Regions from separate parts of the Homo sapiens genome. Here region 1 is linked to region 2. Evidence: promoter capture Hi-C in 16 types of primary human blood cells and fetal thymus (Javierre and others, 2016). All regions are on one chromosome and are shown on one strand. The core of a region is centred on a gene start or on the middle of the fragment in contact, and the rest is flanking DNA. Distances in the headings are between cores, read along the strand shown.

The links. Contacts are between HindIII fragments. The CHiCAGO score rates a contact against its expected background, and 5 or more counts as called.
Region 1: a fragment that was not itself captured here is called in contact with the fragment with the promoter of CLLU1 in region 2 in 1 of 17 cell types (naive B cells); the score reaches 5.9 in naive B cells.

What each region holds. Positions count from the first base shown.
Region 1 is chr12:92,113,217-92,115,916 of GRCh38, forward strand. The region is part of intron 1 of LINC01619 (long intergenic non-protein coding RNA 1619); the gene reads right to left. Among named protein-coding and RNA genes, the nearest start is that of LINC01619, 28 kb to the right of the region's middle. The HindIII fragment of the contact is 614 bases long and covers 984-1,597 here.
Region 2 is chr12:92,420,136-92,422,835 of GRCh38, forward strand. It overlaps CLLU1 (chronic lymphocytic leukemia up-regulated 1), which reads left to right and starts at 1,396. Exons shown (of 2, transcript NR_027933.1): 1 at 1,396-1,700. It overlaps CLLU1-AS1 (CLLU1 antisense RNA 1), which reads right to left. Exons shown (of 3, transcript NR_144319.2): 2 at 879-1,038; 3 at 1-325. The HindIII fragment of the contact is 1,184 bases long and covers 283-1,466 here.

The DNA of each region.
Region 1 (2,700 bases), core at 41-2,540, 310 kb before region 2:
TGATGTTTTATTGAAGACTTTAACAGTAGATAAAGGAATAGAGTTTTTCTAATCATCTAAAGGCTGTTAATAGTGTTGACAATAACAAGTTTTAAATTCTGATTTTTCACTACTACTAAAGATAGATACACCAGATTCTCATTTATTAAATTCATGACCAAATCCAGAATTTGTAGGCTTTCCCTAATCTGGATCCATCTTTCCAATTCTATGTCATCTCCCACTAGTTTCTAGCACACGGGCTACACACTCACTGGCCCACTTACCCTCTATTCTGCCCCCCCCTCCTCAATAGAGAGCCAGGCTACCTCATAAGCATTACTTATACTGTTTTCCTGCTCTCCCTCTTCTCCTCCTCCCACTAACTATTTCCTCTCCACTTTTCATAAACTTACTTTTAATAATACAGCCATCACAGCTTTCTTTTGGTTAGTTTTTGCATGATAGAATTTTCCATCTTTTTATATTCAACCTCTTCAGTATATGTTAGGTATTTTTCTTATAAACAACATACAGTTAGTTCTTGTTTGTTTTTATTTTAATCTAGTCTGACAGTATTGGTCTTTTAGTTGCATTAAGGATTTAGCCCATTTACTTTAATATAATTATTATTAATGCACTTAGGTCTATGACTTTGCTATTTGCTTTTTATCTATACTATCTGTCTATATTATTTTTTCTTTCTTTTTTTATGATTCCATTTTTTACCTTCTATTAACTTGGTAGCTATACATTATTTTATTTCATTTTATTGTTACCTTAGAGATTATTACACTCATTTGTTTTAGACACATGGCTTATTGAAGTCTAAAATAAATACCATAGAACCAGTTCCATTAATATGCTAAGCCACTTTTATATTACTTTGGTTTTTTTCTGAATTTCCTGTTCTGTTCTATTTATTTATTTTTGTACCAGTATTCCATTGTTTTTAATTACTATAGCTTTATATTATATTATGTTTTATATATACAGTCAGCAAAAGCTTCTTTCTTTCACACAGGCCCATGATGCCTGGGCTTGTCTGTTTGGTTTTTCGGGGCTAGCCTAGCATAATTAGTTTTATCATATAGACTTTAAAACCTTTGTCTTGACAGCCAGATCTACCTCCCCCAGCCAGATCTACCTCCCCAAAAAAGAAAATCATTGTGATTTTGATTAGGATTGCAATAATTTTAGAAACAAATTTAAGGAGAACACATATCTTTATAATGTTGAGCTCTTTTAGCTAGAAACATCTTAGATCTCTCAGTGAAACTGCATGTATTTTCATATAAATAGTGCATGTTTCTTAATAAATTTATTTCAGTATATTTTATATCTAATAAATGAAATAGTTCCTTTAATTATATTTTCTAATTGGTTATTTTTATATAAAAATGATTGAATTTTTTCCATTATTAATCTTGTAAAAATAATCTTACTTATTTCTGATTATTTCTGATATACTTTATGAGTTGATCCATTTGGCTTTTGAAGATATGGAATTGTATGGTTTTCCAGCAGTGAGAAATGTGCTAACTTCTTTCCAATATTTATAGTACTTACTCTGTTCCTTCGAATAATAGCACATTAACTTGAGTGGGAATGAATCTCAAGCTTCAATTTTAGGCTTCAGCCTTAATTTACATAAACTAACCATTTATCATAATACCGATCCCCTCACCAAAGTGATTGGTTCAAGGATAAGTAGCACAGACCCAGACTCAGTGTGGTATGGCATGCCATCATAGTGATTTGTTGGGGGATTAGACATAAGATTCAAGAGCTTTCAAGGTTTTCAGAAGAGGAGCTCTTTCTTCTGCTGGACTGTAAGGTGTAAACACATGAAAGGCCTGGAATCAAACCTCTGTGGCCATTTTGCTGCCACGAGAGAAGCTGCACAACACACCAGGAAATGAAAGCTGAAATAATAGAGAGAAATCAAGTCACAACACACAAACCATGCCTGGACTAGATCTGTCCTAGAACTTTATAAAAGCAAACATATCTCACTTCATTTTTTAAACCCTTGTGCATTATTTGCAACCCAAATTATCCTAATGGATACACCAGCTTATTACTATATTCAAGAAACATGCCTAAAACCAAATGACAAAGGAAGTTTTAAAATAAAGGCACATGGAAAATTACACCACGTAAATATATGCAAACAGAAAGCAGAAATGTCAAAATCAAAATCAGATAAGAATTCAAGATCAATATCATTAAGCAGGAAAAAGAGGCATATTATGAAATCTAAAAATATAATTCATGAATTCTTGTAGACCAAAATCTACAGCAGTAAAATACATGAAACAAAACTGTAACAAAGACACGTATAACCTTTAAAAAAATCACAGTCATGATGGGGAATTTTATATCAGAATTTAAGTTTTTTAATTTGTCTTAATTATTGTTTTATTAAAACTTAATTCCTTTTATGGAGACGGGGTCTCACTATGTTGCCCAAGCTGGTCTTAAACTCCTGAGCTCAAGCAGTCCTCTCCTCTTGGCCTCCCAAAGTGCTAGGATTATAAGTGTGAGTCATTGCACCCAGCCTGGGAATTTTATATCACAATTTAGTAAGTCAAATAGATAAAAATAAATAAGGATATAGAGAACATAAGTAATACAATGTAAAGAAAAAGGGAAAAAATTCTACTTTTCCTCATCAAATTTCCACCCACTGCCTCTTTCTCATATGAACATGATGTTTCT
Region 2 (2,700 bases), core at 146-2,645:
GATGGGCCTGCTAACAATGTCAAAGTCTCGTTTACAAAGAAAAAAACAAATCTGGAACCTGAAGTCAAACGAGTTCAAAATAAAAAGCAAACCAATAAACAGAAACCAACATAAACAGAAGTTACTACCATCTCCCTCAGCCTGTGAAATTCTGGAACTTCTCTTTCTTTCTCGCCTTCTTCTTCTCTCACCTGGAAGACGAGCAGAGTGAACACATCAGGGGTTGTCAGTTCCCCAGATGGCACCACATTCATAAACCACCGACTCCAGGAGAATGTAGGAAGCTTAGTTAAGGCCAAAGTTCTCTTTGGATCTTCCTCATGGGCTTCAAGGCAAAAGAAAAAAAAGTTTGCTTGAGAATATCTTCATATCTATTAGTTTGAACCATGCAAAATTACAGTTTTTATAGGTAAAATGAGTGCATATTGGCAATTTCAAATGATTAACCCTAATACATTATGCTTTTGGGTATAGAAATATTCAGATCTTAAACATATGCTGTTACATACAAAATCAGGTATATTCCTGCTTCTATAATTAAAGCAAAGAGAATTTCTTTTGGTCACTACTCCTTCTGACATGAGGTATGAACCAAGTTCAGGACCCCTAAAGGTCTGGGTCTGGGTCATTTCTCCACCTCTAACTTGTGCCGCTTTCTTGGTCAGTCATTGTGTTCTGAGCTGTCTCATAAAACATCTGCTATGACTTTACTTTCTCCTGATAGGGTGGCTTTCCATCGTTGGCACTTCGTTGGCCTTATTGGTATGCTTTATACACTGGTTCTCGTTTCCAAATTGGCATTATTATTGTTATGATTCCTGCTGCTCTCCCACATTTCCCATCTTTCTCCTGATCTCTCTCACCTGTACATTTCTTACATTTTCTCCTGTGCTTCCTTCTTCCCATCATCATTGCCCAAGTGTGTCTTCTTTCTTCTCCTTGTCACATTTCCTTTGCCCGCTCTCACATATGCAGAGATGGCTCTTGGTTTTCCTTCTGAAATCTCATAGTTTGGAGGTAAACTTGTTAGCAAGGCCACTGAGAAGAGAACAAAAGGGAAACATAAGAGAAACCAAGTCACTATCTCTCTCATTTCCTGGTTTCTAGAAGTAAGACCCAAAGAACTCACTGTTTCAGTGCTTTCAGCTCAGGCCAAACTAGGGTGATCAAACTGAGCTTCTGAGTGCTGATCAAAACCTATAAAACCAAGTAGACAGACCATCTACAAATCTTCACTGTTAAATACCATAAAGAATGAAAAGGTCACTAATTGGTAAGACTATATGTGTGATAATTAAATTTATGCATCAACCTGGCTAGGCTAAAGGATGACCAGGTAGCTGGTAAAACATTATTCTGGGTGTGTCCATAAGAGTGTTTTCGGAAGAGATCAGCATTTGAATTGGTGAACTTAGTAAAGCAGACGGCTCTCACCAATAAGGGCAGGCATCATCCAATCTGTCGAAAGCTTGAATAAAACAAAAAGAGGAAGGGAAAATTTGCTTCTTTTCTTCTTGATCTAGTATATCATCTTCTCCTGCCCTTGGATGTGAGTGGGCCTTCAGACTTAAACCAGGAGTTACACCTTTGGCTTCCCTGGTTCTCAGTTCTTTGGACTTGGACTGAATTACACTGCCAGGTTTCCTGGTTCTCCAGCTTGCAGATGGCAGATCATGGGACTTCTTGGCCTCCATAATTGTGTGAGTCAATTTCCATTTTATTTACATATCCAGTTATGCATTGCTTAACAATGGAGACAGGTTCTGAGAAATGCATTGTTAAGTGATTTCATCATTGTGCAAACATCATAGAGTGTAACTACACAAACCTGGACAGCATAGACTACTACACATCTAGGCTACATGGTGTAGCTTGTAACCTCATGATAAGTATGTATAACATCATGATAAGTATGTATGTATCTACCATATCTAAATGTAGAAAAGGTACAGTAAAAATATGGTATAATCTTATGGGATCACCATCATATATGCAATCCTTTGTAGACTGAAATGTCATTGTGTAGTGCATGACTGTATACGCACACATACACAAACACACACAAATATACTATTGGTTCTTTTTCTCTGAAGAGCCCTAATACAATATGTTATACATTTATATTGACTCTATTTCAAAATTTATGGTTTTGGTGAAACATATGTGGAGATGGGGCATAGGTGTGTGAACTGGGATAGTGTCCTGCTGATGAATGGGTGGGAGGCATCATTTGGGACAAGCCCAGGGCATCAGCTTATAGATATCAAGAGCTCAACAAGAGCACTTTATGGCAAAACCTCCCACAAGACCTCTCAGAAGTTGAGAAACTGCTAAAAGTTTCTTTATGACAGATGACATTTATGGATAAAATAGGGATTAGCAGGATTCTTTAAATACTTTCGAACACTAACCTTCATTTCTACCAGGCAGTGGGGCCCCAAGTGCAGGGCCATAGGAAGTACAAGTCTGGGAGATACTAGGCTGCACTGTCTGTAGAGAATCTGAAAAAATAATAGAGTCACTGAAATGCAGTTTGGTATAATTATTGCCATGCATCATAATTCTAAATCATACTAGTGGTCAAATACTCTTCCCTGAAAAAACATTTTCTTGGTTTGAATTCTAAATAATTGTTGTGGTCACCACTGAGCTTTTAAATATATAAATACTTTCAAGTTTGCATATTTTTATTACCTGTTC